Linked DNA regions of Homo sapiens: regions 1, 3 and 4 are each linked to region 2. Evidence: promoter capture Hi-C in 16 types of primary human blood cells and fetal thymus (Javierre and others, 2016). All regions are on one chromosome and are shown on one strand. Each heading gives the region's core, a stretch centred on a gene start or on the middle of the fragment in contact. The rest is flanking DNA. Distances are from core to core; before and after follow the strand shown.

Region 1 (3,640 bases), core at 131-2,630, 180 kb after region 2:
GTGAAATTAGTTTTAATATCTTTTGTTTAGCCTAATATATCTAAAATATTATAATTTCCACATGTAATCAATATAAAAATGTATCAGGGAGATAGTTTAATTCTTTTTTATATTACTATCTTTGAAATCTGGTATATATTTTACATTTATAGCGCATCAGTCTGGATAGTTACACGTGGCTGGTGCCTACTGTATTACACTGTACAGATCTAGATCATAAAATAGTTGTAGAGCTGAGCCGAGAATGTTCTAGAGTAGATAAGCTTTGTCATAAAAATAGAGAATAAAAATTTTGCTACAGAAGTTAGTATAAAAACATAACCCCATTGAAAAAAGCTTACAATGACAAAATGTTTGATATCTGCCTAAATTCTAAAGACATTTCTAAAAGAAATAGAGCTCTTTCCTTAAAACAAATTTTTTAAAAAAATAAGCTTTTCTTCAAACTGTAATGTTTTCTCTTTCCTTCTAAAAAGCATGCAGTCTGCTCACTATATTCTTTGAAATTACTGTATGTTCATCTGCATACCAGTGTAAGGAGATCCTCTTTCTCGTCTTGGAAGAATTTGAGCCCTTGTGATCTTTGCATTTCCCTCCTACGTAGTTCTTTCTTGAACTGTCCATTTGTCCTGGCATATCCCTGAATCCGTACTATCTGCTATAGGGCATTTATTTCTGATGGGGAAGGGTGGTTTGTTTTGATCTTAATGCTGAACTGTCCCTTAGTTCATTGTCTTTTACTCTGTTGCCGTATCTTGCTTACAAATATGGTGTCAGAATATGCAAGTGAATTTATTGCCTGTTGTGAAGAAACCACTATTTTTTTCAGCTTCATTCACTATGAACATTATTGTGCTTACAAAAGTGAGTTGAGTTAAAAAGAACTGTGTTTTTTAGAAGTGAGAATTAAAAGGGAGAAATAGTAATTTTTCCTCTCATAGAATGAATAATAAAGAACTATGACTTTAAATTTGGCATGATCTAAATTTAATTTTTTTCCTACCACATGCCAATTGAAACAGAAGAATTTGTTGAATGGGAATGTCTTGAGTAGGGAAATTAAGGACTCTCACAATCTGTTATCTCTTTAGTAGCATACTTGATACAGTGTCATGTTTAATTAATATTAGAATGTCAATTTACAAAATCATGCTCTTTGGAAGATAAAAGAATTCTGTGTAGAACAGGCAAACTTAGGAAATATATGGTCTCTTGGTAACATGTTGGAAGTTTTCTGCTTTGTTATAATTTTCATATGTAAGTACAATTAGGAGATTTATAGATTTTCAACCCCAATATAATAACATTCTTTGAGAGTTTATCTTTTCTTTACCTACTGATTTACCTTTGTTGTGGACACATTCAGTTTTTCAAGCAACTGGTGTGTACTTTACACCAAAACCTTTATTATATAGTCTTCAGTAATCTGTAGCTGTGAAACTCATACTCATTTATCTGTTTAGATATTCTCAAAACAATCATACCTGTGTGCCAGCCACCTGCTGTCTGACTTGGCAGTTTCTCTGTTCCAACTTTATTTTTCTGCTTTTTAGAAAACTCCCACTTTCCAGTTTGCAGCTAAGGTAGGAGCTGAGTTCCTTTCCCTGTTAAGTGGTCTTATCAGGCAGTTATGCCATTGCCAAGCAACAGTAAGTTCTCTCCTCTCAGGTGTTAGCTAGTAGGTAGGGTTGGCAAGGGGAGCCTGGCCTGCTGTGAAGAAGTAGACCAGTGTCTCTCTGCCACAGCCCTCAGGGTCGGGTCTTGCTGTGGGTTCCATCCTATGGCTCACTGTGACTTTCCTGAATGGAATGCGTTTATTTTTTTTCCAGCTCTGTTCTTTCCATGTTCTTCCCACATCAGCTGGCGGCAGCCAGTTGGTTCTGAATGCTGCCCACAAATTGTTAGCTATTTTGCTTCTTGGTCCCTCAATTTGTCCCTTGAATAAGGAATTGATGTGTTTCAGATCCAGGATTATGTTGCTTAGTGAAGCAAATCTAATCCTTGCCAAGGAATGCCTAAAGTTGAAGGCTTGATTCCAGAAGAAAATAAAATAACAACAGCACTACCTGTAATTAACATATATTGCCTGTTTACTGTGCCAGGCATTATATTAATCAGGTTGCATGTATTAGCTTTGTTAATCCCCAAAATCACTTTAAAGTAGGTTCCATTGTTGCCCACATTTTACAGATAGGGAGCCATTGGAAAATTAAGTAACCTGTTCTAGGTTATATATTAAGGGATAGTTCCAAGATTTTGAATCTAAGTAGCTTGTCTTCAGAGTCCTTGCTTTCAGTACTATATTCAACTGCTAAATAAAGCTTCACTTTGGTTTTTTTGTTTTGTTTTGTTTTTTTGTTTTGGAGAAAGTGTCTCATTCTGTTGCACAGATTGCAATGCAGTGGCGTGATCACGGCTCACTTCACCCTTGCTAGGCTCATGCAATCCTTCTGTCTCAGCTTCCTGAGTAACTGGGACTACAGGCACACACTACCACACCTGGCTAATTTTTTTATTTTTTGTAGAGATGAGGTCTCACTTTGTTGCCCAGGCTGGTCTTGAACTCCTCGCCTCAAGCCATCCGCCTGCCTTTAACTCCCAAAGTGCTGGAATTACAGGCGTGAACCACCGTGCCTGGCCCAAAGCTTCACTTTTCAATGTCTTCTGGAATCTGAACTCTCACTGAAGAGTAGACAGGAGTTTGATGTTTTAATCTATTAAAACTTCTTTGTACGTGCCTTCTAAGAACAGATTATATTCAATGCAATTTTTCCTGAAAAGATGAAGTACATTTGTTTGTAAAATTCATGTATGTATGTATTTATTTATTATAGTACATATTTATGGGGTACATTTGATATTTTGCTGCATGGATACAACATGTAATGATCAAATCAGGGTAATTAGGATATCCATTACCCCAAACATTTATCATGTCTTTCTGTTGGTGACATTTCAAATCTCCTTCAGCCATTTTGAAATATGTAATAAATTATTGTTAATTATAGCCAACAAAAGGCATTATTGCTAGTACAGATATTTCTTGACTTATGATGGGTTACGTCCCAATAAACCCATTATAAGTTGAAAATATGGTAAGTCAGAAATGCATTTAATTCACTCTATTGTTATCTACCCACGTGATTGTGTGGCTGACTGGGAGCCACACAATCTCTGTTTACCATTATGAAGATCCTATTGCTTCAGAATGCAAATGAAATTTAGAGTGAGTGCCTTGTGAATCAGGGAGGCCCCACTATATGACTCCCTGTGATCTCTTGGAGGTGAAAGAATGCACAAATTTCATAAGTTAACCTGAAGGTCACCCGCTTTTCCCCAGTTACATTGTACATGCCATCAATTAGTAGGGGGTGGGCAGAGGTGGAAGATTTCAGGCACAGGCCTTAGACAGTTGATGCCCTCTGTTATTAAGGTAAATAAATCCTAGCAGTTCTTCCCACCTTTTGCACATCATGGCATGCACAGAAAGTTGAGATTGGAGGTGATCCATTATTGCTTGTAACCCATTTCCAACACACTTGTTTGGAAGTTCTTTTTTTTTCTTTTGAGACAGGGTCTCATTCTGTTGCTGGCACGATCATAGCTCACTGCAACTTCAGCTCCCGGGATCAAACTGTCC
Region 2 (3,871 bases), core at 782-3,281:
AGTTCAAGACCTGCCTGGCCAACGTGGCGAAACCCCGTCTCTACTAAAAAAAAAAAATACAAAATTAGCTGGGTGTGGTGGCACATGCCTATAAGCTTGAACCGGGAGGCAGAGGTTGTAGTGAGTAGAGATCGCGCCACTGCACTCCAGCCTGGGCGACAGACTGAGACTCCGTCACACACACAAAAAAAAAAAAAAAAAAAGAAAGAAAGACCAAGCAGAATGCAAATAAAAGGTCTGAAGAACAAGTTTTGTTAATTTGCCACAACAGACTGTACTCCAGGGGAAGCTTTGTTGTCCATTAAAGTGAGTTCTCTGGGAAGACGAGGAGTAACCGACTTGCACGATTTTCCTGCCTTTTCTATATTCTCTACTTACTATGACAATACAGCACTAGAATTTCCAAGTGCTTATACCAGCATAGTGCAATGTATTTAATGAGAAACCACGTCCAACAACAAAGCGTTATAACTTCTCCAGCTGAGTTAGATGTTTTAGTCTGAACCAGGAAAACAGATGAAGAAAGTTGAACCAAGAATTAAAAGATTTAGAGTTTCCACTCAGACCTAAGACTCTCCACTTTGTTTCAGAGGGAGTGGGTATGGTTATTCTGAAGAAGAAGGCGGCCCTTATCCTGAATGCCCGGTAGCCTCCGTGGGCTGGTGGGTGGTTCCTCCGGTCCAGCACCTCCATAATTTATGATCAAATGCCCAAGCCAACAAACTAATCCTCCCCTTCTCCCCCACAAGGAGGCAACCTTTATGTCAGAACAATGTGCCCAGAAGAAGCCAAAGACACAAGGCACATCCAAGGCAAAGACAATCTTAATTAAGCACTTTCTCCTTCCACTTTCTCCACACCTTTACCCCCGGCCCAACCCCTTCCCATAATTTCAAGCTGTACAAAATGAGGTCCTAGGGTGGATCCGGGTGGTCTTTCCTTTCTCTACGGGTAAGCTCTACAAAGAGGCGAAAGCTCCGAGTGTTAGTTCTTGTTTGTGTATAAATTCTGAAAAGCAACGCTGGCCTGCGAGCTATGAAAAGCAGAAGCATGAGTCACCACGCAACGGGTCAATCAAACCTGTAGACCAGAAGGCACGGATCTGGCAAACGGACGGTGAGCCAGGAAAAAAACATCCCCCCAAACCTCTCCGCTGACAGGTTTATCTAGCTGGCTGACCTTGGGCAGGTCACCAGCCGCTCCGAGCACATTCATGTCTAAGATGAGATGGGGGCTGGAAAGCCTTCCAAGAAATAATCCCTTCCGAGTGGTGACGGTCTATGCAACTTTTGAATAAACACATCCTAAGAGGCAACGGAGAAGTTTCTAAAGAGTTGAAATTTTTCAACAAAAGGAGGAGGGAAAAGTGCTCGGTAAAAACACAACGGAGTAACTGGTTTTGGCCTCCGACCAGACGCGAGGGGAGAGAAGAGTGAGAAGTTAGACCCCTGTGATAAAGGGAAAAGGCAGCAGCGGAGACCCGGGCAGGAGCTGCAGCGCCCAGCCGGGGCGAGCTGGGGTGCGCAAGGCCTACCGCGGGTGGGCCCGGCAGGGCAGGGCAGGGCAGGGCGGGGCGGGGCGCCCGCCGCGCTACCCTCCTGGGAAAGGCCGTGGAGGCGCCGGCCGGCGGCTGAGGAGAAACGCCAGCTTTCGGTATGGAATATCGGGAAAGGGCTCTCAGAGCGAAAACTAGCTGCGCCGGCTGCTGGGAAGCCGACGCTGGGCCCGCAGAGAAGGCGCGCGCTCGCGAGGCCCCCCCCAAGTGGATGGGGCGGCGTGGGGGGAGGGGCCGCAAGGGTGGGGGAGGGGAGGTCGCGGGCCTCTCACAATAACACCTCGCAGCCCCTTCCGACCCCCGCCTCTAAGCCACCGGTTCCCTGCGACCCTGGATGCACTCACTGAAGTAGAGGGTCCGTGCGGGCCCCAAGCGGCTGAGGCGTCGGCGGGTGGCGCGTCGGTCGCTCGCTCGGTCCCGTCGGTCCCGCTCCGGCGCGTCCCTCCTCCGGCCCCAGCACCAGCAGCAGCTCCTCCACTTCCGGTTCCCCTGCCACTCAGCCAAATGGCTTCCGGAAGTCCCGCCCCCATCCTGCCACGCCTCAGCGTGGTTCCTCTCTCCCCGCCTTCGCTCTCCCGGGCGCTGGCGGCGTGCGCCCAGGTGTCCCGCCACACCCCGTTGGGTACCCTGCTTTGTTCTCGCGGTTACCCCCATTTTGTGTGGCGTCTGAGGGACATGGGCTTCTCTCTTTACTCCAGCTGCATCTCTCAATCCTGCGTTCGTGCCACCGCAGTGTGGAGCTGGCATTCGGGACGATGTGGCGTGAAGTCACACTGACGCCATTCCCTTCACACTCAGCCAACTTGGCTTCCTCTTCCACCCATGGAATAAACCAGACTGCTGAAAGTGGGAGGGAAATAGCGGACCAAGGTTAAGGAGGCAGTACCTGACATTTATTAGTGGAATTTCTGTTTCTATGATGAATGTGGAGATTTTGGGTGACCGCCTGTAAAGGTGATACATAGGGGGATGACGAACCCCAGGCTTTTCCTTAAAAGATACATCCAGTTTAGGGGAAGACATACATATACAAAGTCAATATTGAAAAGATTATATGCTAAATAAATGCAGGATCTATAAAAGTAGAGAGGAGGGGCAAGAGATGTGCTCAAGCTTATAGCAGCGCAACGGTTGCTGGAGCAGTGCCCTGAACTGGCCCTTTAAGGATCTCAGCTCTATGCTGGTGAATAGGCAGAGCCTTCCAGGGCTCTTAAACTGATGCGGGGGTGGGGGTTGATTTTGCTGACAAAACCTGTTAAGAATACTGTAAAATCCTGGGAGCCTAAAATGTCAAGATATGTCAAGTAATTTTTCTTTTTTTTTTTTTTTTTTATTCAAGTTCTAGGGTACATGTGCACAACGTGCAGGTTTGTTACATAGGTATACGTGTGCCATGTTGGTTTGCTGCACCCATCAACTCGTCATTTACATTCCGTATTTCTCCTAATGCTATCCCTCCCCCAGCCCCGCAGTCCCCGACAGGCCCCCGTGTGTGATGTTCCCCGCCCTTTGTCCAAGTGTTCTCAGTGTTCAATTCCCACCTATGAGAACATGCGGTGTTTGGTTTTCTGTCCTTGTGATAGTTTGCTGAGAATGATGGTTTCCAGTTTCGTCCATGTCCCTGCAAAGGATATGAACTCATCCTTTTTACAGCTGCATAGTATTTCGTGGTGTATATGTGCCACATTTTCTTAATCCAGTCTATCATTGATGGACATTTGGGTTGGTTCCAAGTCTTTGCTATTGTGAATAGTGCCACAATAAACATACGTGTGCATGTATCTTTATAGCAGCATGATTTATAATCCTTTGGGTATATACCCAGTAATGGGATGGCTGGGTCAAATGGTATTTCTAGTTCTAGATCCTTGAGGAATCGCCACACTGTCTTTCACAATGGTTGAATTAATTTACACTCCCTCCAACAGTGTAAAAGTGTTCCTCTTTCTCCACATCCTCTCCAGCATCTGTTGTTTCCTGACTTTTTAATGATCGCCATTCTAACTGGCATGAGATGGTATCTCATTGTGGTTTTGATTTGCATTTCTCTGATGACCAGTGATGATGAGCATTTTTTCATGTGTCTGTTGGTTGCATAAATGTCTTCTTTTGAGAAGTGTCTGTTCATATCCTTTGCCCACTTTTTGATGGGGTTGTTTGTTTTTTTTCTTGTAAATTTGTTTAAGTTCTTTGTAGATTCTGGATATTAGCCCTTTGTCAGATGGGTAGATTGCAAAAATTTTCTCCCATTCTGTAGGTTGCCTGTTCGCTCTGATGGTAGTTTCTTTTGCCATGCAGAAGCTCTTTAGTTTAATT
Region 3 (3,852 bases), core at 472-2,971, 140 kb after region 2:
AGTGTTGGGATTACAGGCGTGAGCCACTGCACCTGGCCTCAGATTACTTTTTATACATTGAAAGATGACCTAGAAATTAGTCAAGACATTAATTTAGATAGTCATACAGTCAAGTGACATAAACCTCAGAGAAGAGGAAGGTTTCCGTGCTATCGCCCCACCCACTAGAGTGGAAGAACTTTGAGGGAGATAGAATAGTGATATTATAATCTAGTTCCTATAGATAAAGAATGTTTGCCAAGAAGGTTAACTTCTGTAGCTGAGCTCCTTTGCTGAGAAGATGAAGGAACACTGTTTAATGGATAGATTTAGTCTGTGATTCTCTGTGGAGGTGATTACTGTCAGTTCTCTTTATCCTAGCAGCATTTGGAAAACTGCAGCTAAGCAACCCGTCGTCATTTCCTAATGTTACTATAATCTGGTGTCAATGACTAATGATCTCATTGGGCTAGTTATTCCCTTCCAGCGATGCTGGCATCAGGAAGCACATTAATAGTCTGTAAGAAATGCATTCATTAAAAACCAGGTAATCACTTTGGAGCTGGTCCTGGCAGTGTCTGAATAAATTGGACAAGTTAGAGAAAATCTTGAACCTGAAAGCTACTTTGTCTTTCAGCTTGGTTTGGGCAAGGTAGGAAGAGATGAATCAGTTATAATTTGATGGGATCTAATGTTACTTTTATAAGATACATCACTTTAATATGATGCTTCATCATTAATGTTTTAGTAATCTGACAGCATTAGACAGAATTGATATTCCCCTTATTTTATTATTTCTTGGCTTCATGACAGAACTGTGCATTAAAAGGCACTTAAGATTTTAAAAGGGATATCTAAGAAAGTGGTTAAAAAACAAACAAATCCCAAGTGGCTTGATCTGACTTACAAACTCTAACAATGTGTAGCTAATTGCAGATAGATTTTATTATTCACAGTATTGTGTCAAGTCTCCTGTGCACATCTTCTGTATTGGAGCATAAGTAATGGAGATGTTATCTTGCCCAACATTAGGTTTGAGGAAGTCGTTTTTAAGACAGAAATAGTAGAACAGTGTTATTCCATACTGTACTTTCCCCTTTTATATAAGCTTGCTAAAATTAAGGTTGGGCAATAGGCCCTTGAGCTAAATGTGACCTGATAGAAAGTTTTAGCAACAATGAAAAAAATTATAACTATCTAATATACATATCTAATATTAGATATTTACCTTACTTACATATCATGCACAATCAAACAAATGGCAATTATAACTACATTCTTTTTTACTTGCCATAATGGAAAAACTTTATTAAACAAATTATGCCCACTGTTGCTCTGGGATTTGGGGACTAGGTAGGCATGATTTCAATGGAAAATAATTTAGTAATGGTATGTCTCAATAATGTATCAACAACCTGGAAAGTATATATTCTTTGACTTAGGATTTTCATTTCTAAGAATTTGTCTTATAGAAATAATAGTAGGTCAAAACAAGAATGTAGTCATAAGAGTATTTACTGCAATGTTGTTTAGAAGAGGGAGAAAACAAATGAAAATGGGCTGGGTGCAGTGGCTCACGCCTGTAATCCCAGCACTTTGGAAGGCTGAGGTGGGTAGACCACTTGAGGCCAGGAGTTTGAGACCAGCCTGGTGAAACCCCATCTCTACTGAAAAAACAAAAAAGAAAAGAAAAGAAAAGAAAACAAAATGCCACAAAAAACAAAGAGATGAAAATGAAAAGAGATCTCACAAGACATATGAATATGTTGCACTTCAAACTGATGCAAACAGGTGTCCATCTAAATTCAATAGTGGGCAGTTAGAATTTGAAACTTAGTTGTCATTGATGATTGCCCTGTGCTCAGAGGAATCACAGATTAAAAAAATTTTTTTTAGAAAGAATTGAAGTTGAGTTTCAGAAAAGTCAGACATTTAAGTTTACAACCGTAGTTGGAGTGCAAACACATATATGTCTTAATTACAAAATGTCTGTTCTGTTAGTACAACTTAGCATAAAGAAGAGATGGACCTACAAGTGAAGTATATCAACTGATAAGAAACAAAATGCTTTAAAACTTTGGATTCAAACCTATGATTCCAGAACTGTTCTAACATTTTAAACAATATGGTCAAACTCTAGGCAAGTTTGGTTCCCTTGTGTTTGTGAAACTATATTTTTCATACATCTTCTGAAGTAAAAACTAAACACTCTCATTAGTTGTTTAAATCTGGAATTGGATTTGGAATTTGCCTTGATTTTATATACCTTTGTTCTTGAGGCTACCTGTATTTGTCAGTTTTATCTTAACTTACTCAAAATGGGTCACTTAGTAAAAATAATTGTCTAACTATACACTTTTAGTTTGATTAAGCTTTTTGGATTAGTTTGGGATTTTGACTAAGTTTCTATATTTGTATGATCAATAATTTCATACTTATAGTAAACAAAAATTTATATATCTGTACTCCTATAGATTTATGATTCTGTGGCTCTAAAAATTTCAGTGCTCTTAGAGTTGTGGAAAGAGCAGAGCACTAGATTAAATGAAACCTCTGTGTGCCAGGCCCTAGCTGGGCTTTCTCGAGGCATTAGAGTGATAAAGTTGGTTGAGGAAATGGTGAAAGCCATACCTTTGTCCTGCCATTTTTTTTCTTTATGAGATCATGGTTGAAGTCCCTGACTCTCATGATAGTGAAATTGAGATTTTAAATATTTGTTTCTCTTTACATCCCAAATCCATTATAGCTAAGAGGAGGAATTTCAGATATTTTTCCAAGAGCGGTTGTCAATTTTTTTTTTTTTTTTTTTTTTAAGACGGAGTCTTGTTCTTTCGCCCATGCTGGAGTGCAATGGCATGATCTCAGCTCACTGCAGCCTTCGCCTCCAGGGTTCAAGTGATTCTCCTGCCTCAGCCTCCTGAGTAGCTGGGACTACAGGCGTGCGCCACCATGCCTGGCTAATTTTTTGTATTTTTAGTAGAGACGGGGTTTCACCATGTTAGTCAGGCTGGTTTCAAACTCCTGACCTTGTGATCTGCCTGCCTCAGCCTCCCAAAGTTGTCAGTATTTTACTTACTTTTCTTTCCTTGCATATTGGAATAGCTTTTTTTTTTTTTTAAATTATCATATACACTACCTGTGGAGGTAAAAACATAAACTGTTGTTTTCTTGGAGGCTGAGGCAGGAGGATCACTTGAGCCCAACAGTTTGAGACCAGCCTGGGTAACATAGCAAGACCCTGTCTTTATAAAAATAAAAAGAATTACTGGGTGGTGTGCACCTGTAGTCCTAGCTACTTGGGAGGCTGAGTCAGGAGGATTGCTTGAGCCCAGGAATTTAAAGCTGCAATGAGCTATGATTATGGCACTGCACTGCAGTCTGGGTGACAAAGTGAGACCCCATCTCTAAGAATAAAATAAAATGGAATTAACATTCACTGTCAACAAAGGCACTCTTGTGCCGTTTTTGTCCCCTTCTTGACTGTCCTGGTCGTATGAGATCTGTTTTTCCTCTAAATTCATTGTATACTATTTTCTTTACATTGTACATTTGGCCATCTCTGGGAAAATGTTAAGAATGTTAATGTTCTCATTTTAGTATACTGATATCTCACTTTTCAGAATATCACCTTCCTAATCTTTTTCTTTAGTCATTTTATCCAGTTGTACTTATGTAAGCTACCATAAACTTTTTCTGAATCAAAGCAAAATATAAATTAATAAATGTTTGCTTCTTTAATAGTGTATATTTTATTCCTTTTATCAAATTTTTAAGTCAGTAAGTACTGTGATTTAAGAACTTTTTATCCTATAATACTGAATAAAGTGTTTTGATATAGAATACGGTACATAGATGTAGATATGCATTTAGTGC
Region 4 (3,429 bases), core at 867-3,366, 210 kb after region 2:
GTGCAGTGGCATGCTCATAGCTCACTGCAGCCTCGAACTCCTGGGTTCAAGTGATCCTCCTGCCTCAGCCTCTCAACAGATTACCAGGTGCATACCACCATGCCTGGCTGATTTTGTTTGTTTGTTTTCTGAGACTGGGTCTCACTCTGTCGCCCAGGCTGGAGTGCAGTGGCACGATCTCGGCTTACTGCAAACTCTGCTTTCCAGGTTCAAGCGATTCTCCTGCCTCAGCCTCCCGAATAGCTGGGACTATAGGCATGCGCCACCACACCCGGCTAATTTTTTTTTTGTATTTTGAGTAGAAATGAGGTTTCACCATGTTGGCCAGGCTGGTCTTGAACTCCTGACCTCAGGTAATCCACCTACCTCTGCCTCCCAAAGTGCTGGGATTATAGAGGTGAGCCACCGCGCCCGGCCTATGCCTGGCTGATTTTTAAATTTTTTGTAGCAATGGGGTCTTGCTTTGCTGTTCAGGCTGGTCTTTAAGTGCGGGGATTATAGGTGTGAACCACCATGCCTGGCCTAATCTATAATTATTAAGTATCCATCATAGGCAGAGTACTATTTTATGTGTAATAAGGAGGCATAGAAAAAAATAGTTCTAGTTCCACATTTTCAAAACTAAAGCATATCCTGTGATAATGTGTTTCACGAAGAAATTGTGTTGTCTCAAAACTCTCAGGGAAAAAGTTTAGTTTATTTGGAAGAGACAGAAGAAAATTTAGTATACTTTTTGCTTGTATGCCAAGTACAGACTTGGATATATGAAGACAGGTCATATATGTTAGTGTGCCTTTTTAGATTAGTTGGGAAGACTCTTGAATTCATTGAGGTGAGCAATAGCATTTAGCATTCATTTTGCTAATAAAATCTAAGGTTCAGGAAATAGTTTTAATAAACAGGGATAGGAATGTATTCAATCATCTTTTGTTCTTTTAATAAATACTTATTAAGTGCTTAATATGCGTCAGATACCGTTCATTGTACTAGACACAGTATTGAACAAAATGGCAAGAATGCCTGCCCTCATGGAGCTTGTTTTCTAGTGGAGAAGACAGATAGTACACCAACTAAGTAGGGTAGAATGTGTCATTTGTTAGAAAATGATAAAGTGCGTAGGGGAAGTGAATATGAAATTGAAATATCAGGAGGTAAGCTGACAATAGAGATAGGAAAGACCTCTCTGAGAAGGTTATACTTTTGTAAAAGATCATGCAGCTATTTGGGGAGGAGCATTCCAAGTAGAAAGAATAGAAAGAACAAAGGCCCTGTGGCAGGAGTATTTCTGCTGTGTTTGAGAAATAGCAAGGTGGCATATGTGATTATAGTAGAACAAAAGAGCCAGTGAAAGAAGGTAAGGTCAAAGGTCATGAGCTGGGAACCCATCCGGAGGTTTTGACAGAAAAAAATGATGTGATCTTATTTAAGATTTAAGAGAATTACCCTGCTACATAGAAATGCAGACTTAATTGTTTGAGTGTAGGAGTTTGAGGCTACAATGAGCCATGATTGGGCCACTGCACTCCAACATGGGCAACACAGCAAGACCTTGTCTCTTGAGAGAGAGAGAGAGAGAGAGGAAGGAAGAAAAGAGAAAATGCAAACTTATATTCATATAAAATTCTATACACAATTGTTTAATTGTTGATAGCAGCTTTCTTTGTAATAGCTAAGAACTGGAAACAACCAAAATGTCCTTCAGTAGGTGAATGGATAAGGAAACTCTTGTACATCTATTCCATGCTGTACTACTCAGCAGTAAAAAGGAGCAAATGGGGCCAGGTGCAGTGGCTCACGCCTGTAATCCCAGCACTTTGGGGGGCTGAGGCGGGTGGAGCACGAGGTCAGGAGTTTGAGACCAGCCTGGCCAATATGGTGAAACCCTGTCTCTACTAAAAATGCAAAAATTAGCCGGGTGTGGTGGCGCACGCCTGTAGTCCCAGCTACTTGGGAGGCTGAGGCAGGAGAATCACTTGAACCCAGGAGGTGGAGGTTGCAGTGAGCCAAGATTGCACCACTGCACTCCATCCTGGGTGACAGTGAGACTCTGCCTCAAAAAAGAAAAAAAAAAAAAAAAGGAGCAAGGTTAATAGACACATCAACTTGGATGGATCTTAAGGACATTATGGTGACTAAAAATATCAGGCCAGTCATGGTGGTTTATGCCTGTAATCCCAACACTTTGGAAGGCCTAGGCAGGAATATCACTTGAGCCCATGAGTTTGAGACCAGCTTGGTCAACTTGGTGAAACCCTACCTCTAAATAATTAGCTAGGCATGGTGGCAGATGCTTGTAGTCCTAGCTGCTTGGGAGGCTGAGGTGGGAGGAGGTCAAGGCTGCAGTGAGCCGTGATCTTGCCACTGCAGTCCAGCTTGAATGACTCTTTCTCAAAAAACAAACAAACAAAAACAAGAAAATAAAAAAGCCAATCTCAAAAGGTCGCCGACTGTATGATTCTGTTTATATAGTGTTCTTAAAATGATGAAATTACATAAATGGGAAACAGATTAGTGGTTTCTAGGAGTTAGGGATGGTGGGGCATAGAGGAACAAGCATGACTGTGTAGGGGTAGTGCAACGGAGATCTTTGTGGTGGTGAAATATTTTTGTATCTTTTTTTGATACAAAAAATTGAACAGGGGAAAGGCAAGATCCGTTTACACATGCAGGCATATATGTGAGAGTACTCAGTAATGACTGAGTCCGAATAGTTGTAATTGCTATTGTAGTAATTGCAGTTGTTGTTCCACAAATCTACACATGTGATAAAGTGACATAGAACTATACATACGCATTGTACCCATGTCAAATTCTGGGTTTTGATATCGTTCTATAATTATATAAGATTTAACCATTGGCGGAAACTGGGCGAAGGGTACACGGGACCTCTCTGCACTGTCTTTGCAACTTCCTGTGAATCTATAATTATCTCAAAATAAAAAGTTTTTAAAAAAAGATTACTACCTTGGCTGCTCTTTTGAGGAGTAATCCTAGGAGGTTATTGCAGAAATCTAGGAGTGAGGTAGTTGCTGTTAAATGAGGCTGGTGGCACTAGAGTGGAGTGAAGGCAGGGGTGAGAAATAGTTGGATTCTGAATATGATTTGAACGTAGAGTTAATAGAATTTGCTGATGGATAGGATGCAGGGTGTGAGAGAAAGAGAAGAATGAAAGATGCCATAAAAGTTTTTGGCCTGGTCAATGGAGGAGCAAAGAAAAGAGATAGTAACAAGAAGCAGCAACAAGTCAAGAAGCCCGGTAAGAGGTAGTTGGATTCTTGGCAAGAAAGACAAAATGACAAACCCTCTTCCTCTAGTCAGTGGCAGCCACGCCTGGGAGTTAGAGGACAATAGGATATTAAAGTGACTGCACTCTTATTAACCTGCTTAGGGGGAGCTGAGTTATCTTGGCCTCGCCCTGCTTTTTTGGAA

Evidence for each region. Contacts are between HindIII fragments. The CHiCAGO score rates a contact against its expected background, and 5 or more counts as called.
Region 1: a fragment that was not itself captured here is called in contact with the fragment with the promoter of PAFAH1B2 in region 2 in 7 of 17 cell types (total B cells, total CD8 T cells, monocytes and 4 more); the score reaches 7.5 in total B cells.
Region 3: a contact is called between a fragment that was not itself captured here and the fragment with the promoter of PAFAH1B2 in region 2, in 1 of 17 cell types (total CD8 T cells). The highest score is 5.6, in total CD8 T cells.
Region 4: a contact is called between a fragment that was not itself captured here and the fragment with the promoter of PAFAH1B2 in region 2, in 3 of 17 cell types (total CD8 T cells, total B cells and naive CD4 T cells). The highest score is 6.4, in total CD8 T cells.

What each region holds. Positions count from the first base shown.
Region 1 is chr11:116,959,244-116,962,883 of GRCh38, reverse strand. All of the region lies in intron 1 of SIK3 (SIK family kinase 3), which reads left to right. Among named protein-coding and RNA genes, the nearest start is that of APOA1, 120 kb to the right of the region's middle. The HindIII fragment of the contact is 1,887 bases long and covers 437-2,323 here.
Region 2 is chr11:117,142,447-117,146,317 of GRCh38, reverse strand. PAFAH1B2 (platelet activating factor acetylhydrolase 1b catalytic subunit 2) reads right to left here and starts at 2,031. Exons shown (of 6, transcript NM_002572.4): 1 at 1,900-2,031. RefSeq lists an enhancer at 772-951 and a silencer at 1,502-1,821. The HindIII fragment of the contact is 2,379 bases long and covers 292-2,670 here.
Region 3 is chr11:116,997,410-117,001,261 of GRCh38, reverse strand. The region is part of intron 1 of SIK3 (SIK family kinase 3); the gene reads left to right. Among named protein-coding and RNA genes, the nearest start is that of SIK3, 99 kb to the left of the region's middle. The HindIII fragment of the contact is 1,264 bases long and covers 1,090-2,353 here.
Region 4 is chr11:116,931,786-116,935,214 of GRCh38, reverse strand. All of the region lies in intron 3 of SIK3 (SIK family kinase 3), which reads left to right. Among named protein-coding and RNA genes, the nearest start is that of APOA1, 96 kb to the right of the region's middle. The HindIII fragment of the contact is 4,518 bases long and covers 1-3,429 here.